Regions from separate parts of the Homo sapiens genome. Here regions 2, 3, 4, 5 and 6 are each linked to region 1. Evidence: promoter capture Hi-C in 16 types of primary human blood cells and fetal thymus (Javierre and others, 2016). All regions are on one chromosome and are shown on one strand. Each heading gives the region's core, a stretch centred on a gene start or on the middle of the fragment in contact. The rest is flanking DNA. Distances are from core to core; before and after follow the strand shown.

What was found. The method cuts DNA at HindIII sites, captures the fragments that hold promoters and counts their contacts. A CHiCAGO score of 5 or more calls a contact.
Region 2: a contact is called between a fragment that was not itself captured here and the fragment with the promoter of ACTMAP in region 1, in 3 of 17 cell types (total CD8 T cells, naive CD4 T cells and non-activated CD4 T cells). The highest score is 5.5, in total CD8 T cells.
Region 3: a contact is called between a fragment that was not itself captured here and the fragment with the promoter of ACTMAP in region 1, in 6 of 17 cell types (total B cells, total CD4 T cells, naive CD4 T cells and 3 more). The highest score is 7.5, in total B cells.
Region 4: a fragment that was not itself captured here is called in contact with the fragment with the promoter of ACTMAP in region 1 in 1 of 17 cell types (naive CD4 T cells); the score reaches 5.0 in naive CD4 T cells.
Region 5: a contact is called between the fragment with the promoter of B9D2 here and the fragment with the promoter of ACTMAP in region 1, in 8 of 17 cell types (non-activated CD4 T cells, activated CD4 T cells, naive CD4 T cells and 5 more). The highest score is 9.7, in non-activated CD4 T cells.
Region 6: the fragment with the promoter of LINC01480 here is called in contact with the fragment with the promoter of ACTMAP in region 1 in 3 of 17 cell types (total B cells, activated CD4 T cells and non-activated CD4 T cells); the score reaches 7.6 in total B cells.

Annotation. Positions count from the first base shown.
Region 1 is chr19:40,749,227-40,751,726 of GRCh38, forward strand. ACTMAP (actin maturation protease) reads right to left here and starts at 1,251. Exons shown (of 6, transcript NM_198476.5): 1 at 255-1,251. The coding sequence starts at 577. SNRPA (small nuclear ribonucleoprotein polypeptide A) reads left to right here and starts at 1,977. Exons shown (of 6, transcript NM_004596.5): 1 at 1,977-2,255. The coding sequence starts at 2,183. RefSeq lists enhancers at 702-1,327, 1,019-1,258, 1,799-1,868, 1,956-2,500 and silencers at 1,459-1,598, 1,863-2,045. The HindIII fragment of the contact is 2,474 bases long and covers 1-1,645 here.
Region 2 is chr19:41,433,819-41,436,518 of GRCh38, forward strand. DMAC2 (distal membrane arm assembly component 2) reads right to left here. Exons shown (of 6, transcript NM_018035.3): 3 at 2,574-2,654. Among named protein-coding and RNA genes, the nearest start is that of DMAC2, 4.7 kb to the right of the region's middle. The HindIII fragment of the contact is 7,201 bases long and covers 1-2,700 here.
Region 3 is chr19:41,301,825-41,304,524 of GRCh38, forward strand. It overlaps HNRNPUL1 (heterogeneous nuclear ribonucleoprotein U like 1), which reads left to right. Exons shown (of 15, transcript NM_007040.6): 12 at 841-1,125; 13 at 2,148-2,437. Among named protein-coding and RNA genes, the nearest start is that of CCDC97, 7.0 kb to the right of the region's middle. RefSeq lists an enhancer at 817-1,156. The HindIII fragment of the contact is 4,477 bases long and covers 1-2,700 here.
Region 4 is chr19:41,278,210-41,281,039 of GRCh38, forward strand. It overlaps HNRNPUL1 (heterogeneous nuclear ribonucleoprotein U like 1), which reads left to right. Exons shown (of 15, transcript NM_007040.6): 6 at 868-967. Among named protein-coding and RNA genes, the nearest start is that of HNRNPUL1, 15 kb to the left of the region's middle. The HindIII fragment of the contact is 1,048 bases long and covers 1,040-2,087 here.
Region 5 is chr19:41,362,723-41,365,524 of GRCh38, forward strand. It overlaps B9D2 (B9 domain containing 2), which reads right to left and starts at 1,427. Exons shown (of 4, transcript NM_030578.4): 1 at 1,236-1,427; 2 at 710-801. The coding sequence starts at 797. It also overlaps a transcript of TMEM91 not described here. RefSeq lists an enhancer at 1,283-1,402. The HindIII fragment of the contact is 18,483 bases long and covers 1-2,802 here.
Region 6 is chr19:41,534,093-41,536,792 of GRCh38, forward strand. LINC01480 (long intergenic non-protein coding RNA 1480) reads left to right here and starts at 1,406. Exons shown (of 3, transcript NR_110724.1): 1 at 1,406-1,509; 2 at 1,622-1,691; 3 at 2,509-2,700. The HindIII fragment of the contact is 2,878 bases long and covers 1,118-2,700 here.

The DNA.
Region 1 (2,500 bases), core at 1-2,500:
GTGATCCACCCGCCTCGGCCTCCCAAAGTGCTGGGATTACATGCATGAGCCAAAGCACCCGGACTGGACTGGGCACTTGTGAGGACAGCTTTCTTCATTGCTGGAGGCACACCACCATGGAAGAGATCTAGGTGGGGGACCTAAGTAGTCAGCCTGTTTGATCTTGAGGACACGGGAACCCCCCCCCCACCCCAAGAGATCTGTGAAGTGTCTAGGGCAGAGCCTGGGTGGTGGGTGGGGCATGGAGACCCTACCGGTCCTTGTGTAGTTTCAGAAGCCTCTTCACATCTTCTCTGCCCTTGGGGACCGGGCCGGCCTTATCAAAGGCCTCCTTCAGGAGCTGGCTCTTCTCCAGGCCGAAGACATGACGGGGAGCAGGCCCTGTGGCAGCGGGTGGAGGAGGCAGTGGGAGCGGTGGGGGAACAGGGGTCTGCTGACTCCAGGGAGGGGATGGTAAAGCTGAAAAGTCCAGGGGACTTGGGGGTAGAGGAGGAGATGGAATGCTGCTGGCTTGGGGTACAGGGGTTTTTGGAGGAGAAATTGGTGGTTTTAGGGGAGGAGAGCATGGAGAAGTCATTTTGGGGTCTACAGGAGGTGTTGAGAGGTTCAGAAAGCGGGGAGGGAAGGATCCTCCAACGGAGAACGGTCTCAGGGATGGAGATTTTAAAGGTTTAAGAGCTGAGTTCCAGAATCTGGGGACTGAGCAGTGGGTGTGAAAGGACCAGGGCTAATATTTGAAACCACGGGAGCAGGAATTGCGAGGCTGACTCAAGTCATAAGGCACCTGACGGTTAACAGGGTGGGGTCCTTAAATCCGGAACCGGATCTGTGGTACCGGTTGGGTTACCTCGGGAGTCTTAGGTGGAGAGTTAGTAGGAGTTAACTCATTCTTTGGGGCTGGATGTGGAAACTCATGAGTGAGTTTGGGATATGAAGGCTCAGATCTAGAGTGAGGTGCCTTAAGGATGCGACTTAGGGACCCAGGGCTAAAGATTCGGAGAACTTAGGTTCAGTACCCCCTCACATCCCAGGCCCGAGTTCGGAACCTTTGAGCTGACCTTTGAGTCAGAGGTCAAGAGGTCAAAAAGGACACCTGGCAGGGAAAATGGCCTAGTTGTGGAGAAGGTCCTGGAACCAGAGCAACAAAAAACGTCTGTGGGTTGGAGAAGACTCAGAGATCAGAGGCCGGTGGGCGCCGCGATAACCACTGGAAAAAGGAAAGGAGTCAGGAAGTAAAGTGCACCTCCCACTCCCGGAAAATGGCGGCCCCCGCACACTGCCTTTCCCATATCACGTGGTATTACACGCAACAGTTCCCGCCCATTTTGCGATCACGTGACAGAAAACGCAGCTCTGGCGGGGGTAAGAGGCGGGACTCCAAAAAGGATTGCCTCCGGAAGACACCGCAGCGCGAGACGCGTACAGACTCGTGACCTTCACTGATTGGTCCGTAGACCCGGGCGCCACGGAAGGAGGTGGGCTTTCAGGGAGTGGGGCGGGGTTTTTCTACCTAGGCGGGAACCCAAATATCGTTTTGATTGGCAACAGCTGAGCCCAGAAACGAGACTTGCTCTGATTGGTCAAGCTACTGCGTTTCCGCGCGGCGATTGGCTGGCAGAAAGGCAGAGGCGGGGCCAGGAGAGAAAGCTTTGTGGTTTGGTCTCAGGGAAGTAGCAGGCGCCGGTTGAGAGAACTACGGCCCTGTCGGAAGGTAACCTCCGGTGCAAACGACCATCGGCGGCAGGCGAGCGGTACGCTTGGCGTCCGGGCCTTCCTGGGCCCGTCTGAGGAAACTTGCTGCTCGAGGCCAGGCTGCCTAGGACCTGTCCCTTTTTTCTATACTGGCTCCCACATCCGGGTTTTTTCTCCGGGACGGCCCTTCGGATGCTTGGGCCAATGGGAATCGCCATTTAGGGTGCTCCGCCCACCGGGTCGCGTAGAGCATCCTGGAAGTCGTAGTAAATCTCTCGAGAGTTCTCTCCGCACGCGGGCTGGAGAAGCGGGTCCTACGCACGCTTTGTTGTCGCGCTTTGCCTCCGTCCTTGCCCCTACTCCCGCCTTACCTGACTTCCTTTTCGGAGGAAGATCCTTGAGCAGCCGACGTTGGGACAAAGGATTTGGAGAAACCCAGGGCTAAAGTCACGTTTTTCCTCCTTTAAGACTTACCTCAACACTTCACTCCATGGCAGTTCCCGAGACCCGCCCTAACCACACTATTTATATCAACAACCTCAATGAGAAGATCAAGAAGGATGGTGAGTTCTCGGGATAGTCCGGAGTCCAGACTGTCCCGCACGGGCTGGCCCCTCTTCCGTCCCCTGCACCCGCCTCTCTTTCTAAGTGTTTGTCCAGCCAAACTTCGAGTTAACTCCTTGGCCTTTACACAAACTACTTCCTGTCTTCAACACTCCATTAGTTCATCTTACACTCTGCCCTTTAACGTGGTCACTGCTGCTCATCTTACAAGGTTTGAGGTCACAGGACCCTTCCTCCAGGAAGC
Region 2 (2,700 bases), core at 197-2,696, 680 kb after region 1:
TGTGCGCAGTGGCTCACGCCTGTAATCCCAGCACTTTGGGAGGCTGAGGCAGGAGAATCACTTGAGTTCAGGAGTTTGAGACCAGCCTGGGCAACATAGTGAGACCTCGTCCCTATGAAAAAATACAAAAATTGGCCAGGTGCGGTGGCTCACGCCTGTAATCCCAGCACTTTGGGAGCCGAGGTGGGCGGACTACGAGGTCAGGAGATCGAAACCATCCTGGCTAATACACGGTGAAACCCCATCTCTACTAAAAATACAAAAAAATTAGCTGAGCATGGTGGCAGGCGCCTGTACTCCCAGCTTCTTGGGAGGCTGAGGCAGGAGAATTGTTTGAACCTGGGAGGCGGAGCTTGCAGTGAGCCGAGATCGTGCCACTGCACTCCAGCCTGGGTGACAGAGCGAGACTCCATCTCAAAAAAAAAACAAAAAAACAAAAATTAGCTGGGCTTGGTGGCTTGCACCTGTGGTCTCAGCTACTTGGGAGGCTGAGGTGGGAGGATAGCTTGAACCCAGGAGGTCGAGGCTGTAGTGAGTTGTGATCATGCCACTGTGCTCCAGCCTGGGAGACCCTATCTCAAAAAAAAAAAAAAAAAAAAAGGAATGTTTTGCCAATTTTACATACCTAGAAACTGAGGGTCAGCGAGATTACAGATAACATAAGAGCAAAGAGGTAAAATGCAAGAATCCTTGTAGATGGGCAGAAGTTAAGGGACATTTTCAAACATGTATACTGTTTCTAAGGAAGTTGCCAGAGGAAGTGCTCAAACCAGATGGAGGGGTAGATGAAGTCTATGTGAACTGTCTTTTCCAAAAAAAGAAAAAAAGCAAAGGAAAGAGAAAGGGAAGGAGAAAGGAGGCGGGGAAGAAGGAAAGAAAGAAAAACATTATTGAGCACAGGCCAGGCGCCACCAGTGGCTCACGCCTGTAATCCCCAGCACTTTGGGAGGCCGAGGTGGGTGGATCACTTGAGGTCAGGGGTTGGAGACCAGCCTGGCCAACATGGTAAAACCCTGTCTCTACCAAAAATAAAAAAAATTAGCCGGGCGTGGTAGTGTGCACCTATAATCCCAGGTACTTGGGAGGCTGAGGCAGGAGAATTGCTTGAACCCAGGAGATGGAGGTTGCAGTGAGCCGAGATTGTGCCACTGCACTCTAGCCTGGGCGACAAGAGCAAGACTCTTGTCTCAAAAAAAAAAAAAAATTATTGAGCACATATGCATTGCTAGGCTTCTTACATTGCAAAATCACAGTTAATCTCTCACTCCCCCTGACAGGGTCCCACTGGGTAGCTGGGATTACAGGCATGCACCACCATGCCTGGGTAATTTTGTATTTTGGTAGAGACGAGGTTTCACTATGTTGCCGAGGCTGGTCTTGAACTCCTGGGCTCAAGTGCTGTACCTGCCTTGGCCTCTCAAAGTGCAAAGGCATGAGCTACCACGCCCAGCCATTATTATTATTATTTTGAGACAGAGTCTTGCTCTGTCACCCAGGCTGGAGTGCAGTGGCGTGATCTTGGCTCATTGCAACCTCTGCATCCCGGCTTCTAAGGGATTCTCCTGCCTCAGCCTCCTAAGTAGCTGGCATTACAGGCGTGCGCCACCATGCCAAGCTAATTTTGTATTTTTAGTGGAGACAGGGTTTCACCACGTTGGCTAGGCTGGTCTCGAACTCCTGACCTCAGATGATCCACCAGCCTCGGCCTCCCAAAGTGCTGCGATTACAGGTGTGAGCCACCGCGCCCGGCCTATTATTATTTTTTGTGATGAGGTCTCCCTGTGTTGCCCAGGCTAGAGTTCAGTGGTGTGACTACAGCTCACTGTAGCCTCCTGGACTGAAGCGATTCTCCCGCCTTAGCCTCCTGAGTGGCTGGGACCACAGGCATGTGCCACCATACCTGGCTAATTTAAAACATTTTTTGTAGAGACAGGGTCTCACAAAGCTGCTGAGGCTGTTCTCAAACTCCTGGCCTCCAGTGACCTTCCTGTCTCGGCCTCCCAAAGTGCTGGGATTACAGAATGAGCCAGTGTGCCCAGCTCCGTTCAGTCTTTTTTTTTTTTTTTGACACTTTTGAGATGGAGTCTTGCCCTGTCCCCCAGGCTGGAGTGCAGTGGTGCAATCTCAGCTCACTGCAACCTCCACCTCCCGGGTTCATGCGATTCTCCTGCCTCAGCCTCCCCAGTAGCTGGGATTACAGGCGCCTGCCACCACGCCCAGCTAAGTTTTGTATTTTTAGTAGAGACAGGGTTTCGCCATTTTGGCCAAGCTGCTCTCGAACTCCTGACCTCAGGTGATCCGCCCGCCTTGGCCTCCCAAAGCATTGGGATTACAGGCGTGAGCCACCGTGCCCGGCCCCTGTTCACTCTTTATAGCAAACCTTGTGGGTTAGAAATGACCACCATCCCATTTTACACGTGACAAAACTGAAGCTCAGGAACAAGTCCCAAGCCACACAGCCAGGAGGCGGCAGAGACCAGGGGACTCTGAAGCCTGTGTGACTGCAGAACCTGGATGTTAGAGAGATACCCCACCACCTGCCCCAGCCCGTTCTAACACCTTAGCGGTCATACTTGACTGCGCCTCCCTGCTTCAGGATGAAAAAGGCACCTGCGCCGTATGGACCATGTTGCTTCTCCAGCCAGGTGTAAGATCTGCAGAGAAAATGGTAGCTAAGGGTGAGGCCTGGGGAGCACCACA
Region 3 (2,700 bases), core at 11-2,510, 550 kb after region 1:
TGCTTCTGCTTTGTCCCTTCCTTGTCTACCACAGCTGTGAATGGAAAAGCTACCCATCTGTCTTATGTTGGGGTTTTCAGGCTGGATGGGGCTGGGGCAGCACAAGGGAAAGGATGTATGGGAGCTAAAGCTGAAAGTCCTGTGTGCTCACCCTGCCTCTGGTCCCAGATGGGCTGACTGTGGGCAGGCCTCAGTTTGTTTCTCTGTAAATATAGGGATGGTGATGCCATCTGTCTGACCCATTCCCTGGGGTGAGGCCTGAGGGAGCTGTGCACTGTGTCTAGGTGGGTCTTAGCCACCTCTTCAGAAAACGGAGGAGTCTTTGTTAGCCCCTGACACTTAGCAGGCTGAGGGGTTGGGGCTTTGTCTACCTCTTTCTCTCTCTCTCTGTTTTTTTTTTTTTTTTTTTTTGGAGAGGGAGTCTTGCCCTGTCACCCAGGCTGGAGTATAGTGGTGCGATCTTGGCTCACCGCAACCTCCGCCTCCTGAGTTCACCCAGTTCTCCTGCCTCAGCCTCCCGAGTAGCTGGGACTACAGGTGTCCACCACCATGCCTGGCTAATTTTTGTATTTTTAGTAGAGATGGGGTTTTGCCATGTTGGCCAGGCTGGTCTTGAACTCCTGACCTCAGGTGATCCACCCGCCTCGGCCTCCCAAAGTGCTGGGATTACAGGCGTGAGCCACCGCGCCCGCCCTTCTGTCTATGTCTTTCTTATTCACTATTCCAGTTTTCTTCACCTTCTCCCTTCTGGAAGGCCACTCTTCTGGGTGGAGGGGACCAGACTTCAGAAGGTACTGACCTCTTCTTCTTGTTCTCTTTGGGGCACTTCCTTCCTCCTAGCCAACTTCACGTTGCCAGATGTTGGGGACTTCCTGGATGAGGTTCTGTTCATTGAGCTGCAGCGGGAGGAAGCGGACAAGCTAGTGAGGCAGTACAACGAGGAAGGCCGCAAGGCTGGGCCACCCCCTGAAAAGCGCTTTGACAACCGAGGTGGTGGTGGCTTCCGGGGCCGCGGGGGTGGTGGTGGCTTCCAGCGCTATGAAAACCGAGGACCCCCTGGAGGCAACCGTGGCGGCTTCCAGAACCGAGGGGGAGGCAGCGGTGGAGGAGGCAACTACCGAGGAGGTGAGACATCTCACACACAGCACTCTCCACTTTCTGTTCCCAGGTTGGGGCTGGGCTTTGACTGCTTATTCAATCAGCAACTGAAGTTTTCTGAGCTCCAGCTGTGAGTTATACTCTGGTAGAAAACTTGAAACAAGTCAGACACGGAGACCTCAGAAACGCTCCCACTTTCCCACTCCCTGGACGCTGGTTATGAAGCCCTTTGCCCATTTGCATATCACAGTGCACATTCTGTCACATTGCTGTCATTTTTGTGAACCTTCCCCCATCTGACCATGAGCTCCTTGGAAATAGGATCTAGATCAAAATCTATTGGAAATGGGGGCTACATCTTTGGCCAGGTCTGAAGAGGACTAGATGTGACTCGTTCATGGCTGTCACCAGTGCTTAGCTTCCTCTCATTTTTTTTTTTTTTTTTTTTGAGACGGAGTTTTGCTCTTGTTGCCCAGGCTAGAGTGCAATGGTGTAATCTCGGCTCACTGCAACCTCTGCCTCCCGGCATTCAAGCGATTCTCTCGCCTCAGTCTCCTGAGTAGCTGGGATTGTAGGCAAGCACCACCACGCCCGGCTAATTTTGTATTTTTAGTAGAGATGGGGTTTCTCCATGTTGGTCAGGCTGGTCTTGAACTCCTGACCTCACGTGGTCCACCCGCCTTAGCCTCCCAGAGTGCTAGGATTACAGATGTGAGCCACCGCACCCTGCCAGCTTCCTCTCCTTGAGCATCTCCTTCCTGCATATTCAACAGCTATTGAGATGCTGGGACACAGAAACCCAGGACTGCCTTGGTCTCTGCCTCACCATTCTTGCAGTCCAGTGAATGAGACAAACCTGTCATAAGGGCTGGGACAGGGGAGTATGCCCGGGGGTCTAGAGAATCCCAGAGGACATGCTTTGTTGTTCACCTTGAGTTCTTGCTCTGCGCCTGGCCATGCCGGCTCACAGTAGTCACCAAGACAACCCAGTTCCCTGGGGTTGCCATTTGGGAATGATGGCGCCTTTCATCTGGATTTCTCCAACACAGGTTTCAACCGCAGCGGAGGTGGTGGCTATAGCCAGAACCGCTGGGGTAACAACAACCGGGATAACAACAACTCCAACAACAGAGGCAGCTACAACCGGGCTCCCCAGCAACAGCCGCCACCACAGCAGCCTCCGCCACCACAGCCACCACCCCAGCAGCCACCGCCACCACCCAGCTACAGCCCTGCTCGGAACCCCCCAGGGGCCAGCACCTACAATAAGAACAGCAACATCCCTGGCTCAAGCGCCAATACCAGCACCCCCACCGTCAGCAGCTACAGCCCTCCACAGGTGAGAGAATGAGTGTGTGTTTGTATGTAGTGATCGCACGTGTGCTTTTGAACCTGAGCAAGTTAGGTGGAGGCGGATCTGGGGAAATCAACACATGCCCCAGCTACTGGTCTTCACTCTAACCTCTAGCCTGCCCTTCTTTCTCCCTGGCCGTGATCTTGACTCAGATGGACCCTACACATTCCCAGATCCCCTCCAAACCCAGGAGTAAATGTAGACCTTCCCAGAACCTGCTCTTCTCCCACCACCCTCAAGGGGATGGG
Region 4 (2,830 bases), core at 314-2,813, 530 kb after region 1:
ACGCCACGCATGCCTAATTTTTTGTATTTTTAGTAGAGACGGGGTTTCATGATGTTGGCCAGGCTGGTCTCGAACTCCTGACCTCAGGTGATCCACCCACCTTGGCCTCCCAAAGTGCTGGGATTACAGGCTTGAGCCACCGTGCCCGGCCTACTTTGCTCTTTTTAACTGTTGCATCATATTTTGTGGCATGGATATACCATAATCAGTGCTTTATTGATATTTTTTCTGATGTTAAAATATATATATATATATATATGTGCACATATATACATCCAATGCTGCACAGAATGTTGCATATACAAATACAGTCACACATACGTAGACATACTTGTCCACATATTAGTGTATCTATAGGATGCTGAGTTATAGAGCATGTGCATTTATGGGGTTTTGTTGTTTTTTTCTTTTAATGTTTTTGTAAAGATGGGGTCTTGCTATGTTGGCCAGGCTGGTTCCTAACTCCTGGCCTCAAGCCATCCTCCTGCCTTGGCCTCCCAAAGTGTTGGGATTACAGGTGTGAGTCACCATCCCCAGCCATTTACAGTTTTGATAGAGACTTCTAGATTGCCCTCTAAAGACACTGTAACAGTTTATCTTTCTACTAGATGTTACAAGAGTCTCTTAAACTAAAACATAACCGTATTTTGAAATGCCTGTCTCTGTGGCCCTGTACTCTACTGATCCCTTTGGAGGCCCTGGCTTCGATTCGGTTCAACAGGCTTTTCAGAGCTGCTTAAACGCTTCTTCTCCAGCAAGAAAAGCCATTGCTATTTTTTAATGCCTGATATGCTTCCCTCCTATATTGGCTCATAACCTACGGCCTCCAGAGAAGCAACCCTGAGCCCTTTTGTCCTCTTTCCTCAGATCAATGAGGAAATCTCCGTGAAGCACCTTCCGTCTACAGAGCCTGACCCCCACGTGGTCCGTATCGGCTGGTCCCTGGACTCCTGCAGCACCCAGCTAGGTAAGGAGGGGTCAGCTATGCAGTCCAGAGAATAGAGTGACTGTCCCTACCCTTGGATTTTCAAGGCTCCTAAGCTTCCTTTTCCAGCGTCAGACTTAGAATAGAACTAGGCTGAAGTGGAACAGGTACAAGGATTAGGTATATGCCACTGTCTCTGTCATGCTGTATTCAACTGAGAGGACTATGGTCATGAAACAACTTTTCTGTGAAGAATCAATTCTTATCCTTCATCTTTTAGGAGAGGGTCCAAAATTCTCTTTAGGAATCTATTCCCTTTCTGTAAAAAGGATCAGTGTCTCCTGCCCTTAAACCAAGCTGCTGATAAGTTCCCAAGCTCCATTAAGTTCTGTCTGTATTTTCTGTCCGGAGCCTAACCTAGAGGAAAAAGGGGAGCAGAGACCAGTGAGGCCAGGGCTAGTTGGGAGAGGGGCAGGGGCTGCCTATTGAAAGGTTTTGAATTTTGCGGGTCCCCAGGCTTCAATGACCTTCTGGTCCCAAGTGACTGATTATTCTGACCAATGCTGACACCTCCTGCCTTCCGTTTATGATCATACAAACGTTCCAATTATGAAAATAATATGTGTTGCGTATAAGAATTCAGGCCATACAGAAAGGGAAAAATGAAAATCCTTCCTAAACCTGTGAGAGAAACTAACCAATGTTAACATTCCATTTGTAGTCTTCTGGACATTTATTTTTTTGTACATCTTTAAACTGGATCACACTAGGACTACTTTGTATAGCCTTGTTTTAATGTATGATGGGCATATTTTTGTAAATAACTGCAGCTTTTTGACTACTGCATAATTTTCCATTTTATAGTTGCATTATTTAACAAGTCCCCTTCTGTAGCTCATTTAAACTTATTGCAAATTTTTGCTGTTTTAACACTTGAGCCATTATCCTGGTCCATAATTGCCTGACCACTTAAGACTAATCTTTAAAAATAGATGATATTCTCACTCACAAGTGTTTGTTTAAAAAATATGTTCACATGGACTTAGAGAGTGGAATAATAGATAATGGAGACTCAGAAGTGTTAGGGGGTAACAAGGTGGAGGAGGATGAGAAATTGGTTAATGGGTACGATGTACATTTTTTAGGTGATGAACACCCTAAAAGCTTGACCACTATGCAATCTGTGCATGTAACAGAATTGCACATGTACCCCATAAATTGGTACCTCCTCAAAAAGGTAGATATGTTAGCACCAAAAAAAAAAAGTATACAGTTTTCATTTCCATATGTGTTAGCACTTTTTATTTAAGACTCATAAGTCATCTCATCTTATCTCTGTCTCCGTTTTGAGATGTAGGTGGTGGCAGTTGATAGGGATGGGGAAACAGCCCAGGAGGTCAAGCACCATATCCAGGGTCACATAGCTGGTTTGTAGCAGAACGAGCCCTGGCATTCATGCTTGTCGGCCCCTGCTTTTCTAACAGCATACTCTTTGGGTTCTGCCCGGAATCTCTAACTCAGGTGTCAGCCAGAGCCCTTGGGATCTCTCAGTCATATCACTTCAGCACCCAGTTCTGTAGCCTGAGGAAATCTAGTACCTTTCCCAGGGGTCAGTCCTCATGGTCTCCAGGAGCAAAATCCAGCCCCTTCACTGATTTCTACCACAAGTAGACTGGACTGAATATTGGGTGTCACAAGGAAGGGTTGCATCTCAGCATACAGCCATTCTCCTCCATCCCAACTCCTGTCTTCCTTCCTCCCTTTCTTTTCAAATTCTCCCCTCTGTGCAGAGTTATTCAGTTGAGCTCCTACTCCCAGACTGGACAATGAAACCCATCAAGCCCTCCAAGTTCTACATCATTAAGGGCTTCCTTTCACCCTTCCCCACCCCTATTTTAAAAAGGC
Region 5 (2,802 bases), core at 177-2,676, 610 kb after region 1:
TGGTTTTGAACCCAGGCAGTCTGTGCTCTTAACCTCAAACCTGTGCTGCTTCTTAGCTACTATTAGCTTCACTTTGAAACAAGGAAACTGAGGCTCAAAGTGGTCGAGTCCAAAGGTCTCCAATTAATAGGTGGGGGAGTTAATATTTAAATGCAGATCTGGCAGCCCATGACCCTAACCATTACACTATACCATGACTCTATAGGGCCTCAGTTGGGGAAGCATGAACAAAATTACTTTCCTGGGACGTGGCGGCTCACGTTTTTAATCCTAGCACTTTGAGAGGCTGAAGTGGGTGGCCTGTTTGAGCGCAGGAGTTCGAGACCAGCCTGGGCAACATAGCGAGACCCTGTCTCTACAAAAAATAAAAAAAATTAGCCAGATTTGGTGGTGCGTGTCTGTAGTCCCAGCTTCTCAGGAGGCTGAGGCGGGAGGATCACTAGAGCCCGAGAGTTCGAGGCTGCACTGAGCTATGATCACACCACCTTACTCCAGCCCGGGCGCAGAGAGAGACCCTGTCTGTATCCCACCCCTCACACACACAAAGATGGGAGCTTGAGACTCATGTGGACAGGGTGTGGGCTGGGCCTGGAGTACTGAGAACTGATGGAAATGAGGTTAAGAGTCTGCGTTAAGGGGTGGAGGAAGGAGCATGTAGCCTCTAGGCTAGGGGTCTTGGTGTGGAAATGAACCAGGCTTGGGGGAATACCTGTGTGAATGCCCCACTTGCAGAAGAGGCTACTTTCCGAGAAACCGCTGGCCCCTATGATCTGCCCGATCACGTGCACCTCAGCCATGGCCCTGGGAGGGGAAAAATATAATCACAACCCTGTGAGGTAAGTGTATTATCTCCATTTGACGGGGGGGAAACTGAGGCCCAGCAAGTAAAGGGTAGTACTAGGATTCCAAGCTAGCTTCGTCACACCCCTGAGGCTGAGGTCTTGACCACAGATCCTAATTGCCAACCCATGAAAGCCTGGAAAAAATGGGGGGACCCTTGTCTGGGGAACCAGCATTTAACTCTGGGAAGTCCAAAATAACCTTTTCGGGTTCAGGTCGGCGGAAAGCCCCGCCCGAAGGGGCTATGGCTCCGCCCACGAGCGCAAAAGACCCGCCTTCCGCGTCACGCCAGCCACCCCGCTTCCCTCCCCCAGCAAGCTCCATAAGGCGCATGCGTTATGAGTTCAGGTCCGACTTAACCCCGCCTCTAAGCGCAGCGCATGCGTCATTCCTACCTTAGCGCACTTAACGGTTAGGAGAGGAGAAAGCGGCAACCGGGGTTGTAGTTCATGGGCTTGACTGCTTCTTTTCTCCGCGGGCGCCGACCAGGCCTGGCTCGCGCCTCTCCCAGGACCCGCCTGGCTGCGAGATATGTAAGCCGCGATACTTCCGCGACCGCGCTCGTCTTGGTTTCCGTGGTTGTTGCTGGGGCAACAGCAGGCTCCTCCCCTAGCTTTGTACTCGCTCTGCGCGCTACTAATTGGTGCTAGCCGTCTGCGGGGGGCGGGGTGAAGCTGTGATGGACATTTTCCTCCTCCGCTCCATTTTGGGAAAATAGCGTCTCTCCAGCTACGGCAAAGGGTTCCGCCATTTTGGGCGTGGCTAGGAAGCTGCCATGTTGAGTGTGGCTGAGGAAGTTTGAGTGCAGTTTCTCCCAGATACCTTCTTTACCAAAAAAGCAAATCCCTAACTGCTCCGTGCTGCGCCTACCCCACCGAAGAGCTCTCTGTGGTCCGGGATCACAAATCAGAGATTGAACCAGGACCAAGGGGGAATTCCTTCCAGGACCTCGTGTACATCCCCGGCCTTGTAACTGGAAAACAAAGCAAAAAAATCACTCCTCATTCAGAGAGTGGAGAAGTTGGGGAGTGGGTTCTGCTTCCGTTTTAGAGTTCCCCTAGGTTTCTCAAGGACAAGGAAGGAAGGAAGTTGGATAAGTCCAACTTCCTTCTCGGAGCTACTACCAAGTTCACTGTTACTGCTTGATTCTGAGCAAGGAGCGGTTGGGGTAGCGAAGAGAAATGAGGAACTAAGATTCCCTTATTTGCAGAAAATCCTCTTTCCTATTGATTGATTTATCAATCAAGAAATGGAGATGTTGTCCCTGGATGCCATCCTAGATGCCATCATTTCCCACATCAAGCCAGTCATCAGGTCCCATCAAGGCTCCTTAAAAGGGTCTCACTCTGTCACCCAGGCTGGAGTACGGTGGCTCGATCACAGCTCATTGCAGCCTCTTAACTCCTGGGTTCAAGGGATCCTCCTACCTCAGCCTCCCATGTAGCTGGTATCACAGACATGCACCACCACGGCTGGCTAATTCTTTTTTTTTTTTTTAAGAGATGGAGTCCTGCTATGTTGCTATGTTGCCCAGTCTTGTCTTGACCTCCTGGGCTCTAGCTATCCTCCCAGTTCTCCCTCCCAAACTGCCGGGATTACAGGCGTGAGCCACCCAGCCAGGCCAATAGATACAAAGTATTTACAAGCTACCATTGGCTAGGCGCGGTGGCTCATAACTGTAATCCCAGCCCTTTGGAAGGCTGAGGCGGGAAGAGCTCTTGAGGCCAGAAGTTCGAATATAGGGAGACCCCATTAATAATGCATATATCAACTAGTGAAGTATTCCATTGAATTGTTTAATATAAATGTTATCCTATTGAAATGTTGTACCCTCGTTATAATTTTGGTTTTTTACTTTTTGAGATGGCGTCTCCCCCTGTCATCCAGGCTGGAGTGCAGTGGTGCGATCCCAGCTCACTGCAATCTCTGCCTCCCGGGTTCAAGAGATTCTCCTGCCTCAGC
Region 6 (2,700 bases), core at 156-2,655, 790 kb after region 1:
CTTTGCCATACTTCTTAGATAAAACAGAATACTTGAAGTTACTAGTTAAAGAGAACAAGAATCTATAAACTCATACCATAAAACAAAGGAAAATTTGTTTTTCTTCTCCCTACATTGAAGGAGTGCTGGAAGAGTCTCCAGAATACAATAAATAATATTATCAAGACTTTTCCTGGGTCTGGGCTGTGCCTGTTGCTGCCTCTGGGACAAGTTAGCTTAATACAAGAAAGCTTATTTCCCTTTCTTTTTAATTTTATTTTTCTTTAATTTCCCACCTCAGTTTTACTTTGCATTTCCCTGAGAATTTTTAATAAGTAAAATACTTAGAAATATACTTAACCAAGTAGGTTAATGTAAGTTTCCTACAAGGAAAACTACAAAATAGTGCTGAAAGAAATCACAGTTGACACAAACAAATGGGAACACATTATAAGCTTATGAATAGGTAGAATCAATATTGTGAAAGTGACCATACTCTCCAAAGCCATCTACAGAGCAGTAGAATTCTCATCAAAATATCATCATTCTCCTTCCCAGAACTAGAAAAAAGAATCCTAAAATTTATACAAAACCAAAAACGTGACCGCATATCCAAAGCAATACTTTGCAAAAAGAACAAATCTGAAGGCAGGCTTTAAATTATACTACAAGGCTACAATCACCAAAATAGCATGATACTGGTATAAAATATGCACATAGAGCAATAGAACAGAATAGAGAACCCAGAAATAAAGCCAAATGCTTACAGACAACTAATCTTCAACAAAGTACACAAAAACATTAATTGGGGAAAGGATACTTTATTCAATAAATGGTGCAGGAAGTATAAAAATAGGCACATAGAGCAATGGAACAGAATAGAGAACCCAGAAATAAAGCCAAATGCTTACAGACAACTAATCTTCAACAAAGTATGCAAAAACACTAATTGGGGAAAGGACACTTTATTCAATAAATGGTGCAGGAAGTATAAAAATAGGCACATAGAGCAATGGAACAGAATAGAGAACCGAGAAACAAAGCCCGGTACTTTCAGTCACCTGATCTTTAACAAAGCATATAAAAACTTCCATCTAAGACCTGAAAGTCTAAAAATGCTACAAGATAGCATCCAAAAAGCTTTTCTAGACATTGGCTTAGGCCAAGTAGTCATGACTAATGCCCCAAAAGCAAACGCAAAAATATAAAAATAGAATAAGATCAATAGGACCTAATGAAACCGAAAATCTTCTGCAAGGCAGAAGAAATATCAGCAGGGTAAACACACAACCCACAGTATAGGAAACAGTAGTCACAAACTAGGCATCTGACAAAGGACTAATGTCCAGACTCCAAAGGAACTGAAAGAAATCAGCAAGAAGAAAAGGTGCCATTTACCACCTTCCTGACTCATTGGCCAGAACCAATGTTAGTGGAATTAACATATGCCCCACCCCAAGTGACTTCTAAAGGGCTAACTCACCACAAGGGAGTCAGAGCAGATCTTGGACTGAGACCTACAGGACACAGGTACTGCTTTTTCTCTTTTATTTGTTTTAAATTTTATTTATGTTTTTAGATCAAATAGTTCAGATTGCATTGGTTTTTAATCTGCTGTTGTTGGATTAACATATGCTTTAAGCGACTCTTAAATAGGTGGCTCACCAGGAGAAAGGCATAGCAGAACCTGGACTGAGACCTACGGGAGACAGGTATTGCTTTTTCTCTTCTAATCATTTTAAATTTAATTTACCATCTTTCATCAAATAGCTCCGATCATATCATTATTTTTTCTTTTCTGTTTTGTTGGTGGTTTTATTGGTGGAGTTTTATTTTACTATTTTAGAAAAGCAGTCTTTTAAAAAAGACTTTTAAAAAGTTTTATTACTCTTTTTTTTAAAAAAATTATGTTTTCCCTTGATGTGCTTATTTCCTTTATAAAGATCATCACCATTAAATTACTAGGAGATACTGCGGCTGATTTTGTCATGCGTGAGATAAGAAATTTTTTGCCAAAGCAATTAGTGATGAGTGCAATGGAAAAATCCGTGATGATCTTTTAAGATGATTAACTTTCTAATCCAGAAAATGCTGCTGTTTGTACTGAACAAAATAGCTTTATTTTTATATGACCAGGGGTACATAAAATGCTTCAAAACAACACATAATTTGGCAAAAATACTATGTCTTGCCAGCCAGAAGAATAAGTGTGGTTTTATTTCTATGTATATGTCTAGTACCATGCCTGCACTAGAGTTGGGAAATTTTAAAAACATCACCTATTGATACAGAAGAGAAGTGCTGGGAAGGGAAGGGCATGGTCCCTTTGAATGATACAGAAAAGGTGAAGGAAAGTGATGGGTAGAGGAGGCCGGGGTCCCTGGCTAGGGCTCCAAACCTGGGCTTGTGCCCCTGGACCTAGATGAGGACAGGCATTTTTGTTTTCCTGACCAAATGTTGCATTTCCCAAGATCACCCTGGCCCACCATGCCCTATCCTGTGCCTAAAAAAACCCTGGGACCCTAGCAGGCAGACACACAGGAGGTTGGACGTCGAGAGGAGCACATCAGTGCAAGAACACATGGGTGGCTGCCACTTCTCTCCCTTTCCTGAGAGGGAAAAACTCTCGACGCTGAGAGGAATCCACCAACAGGCACCAGCACTCTGGCAGGCCACCGACCAATGGATTGACATAGAGTTTGGCTGGGGCAGCCAGAGGAG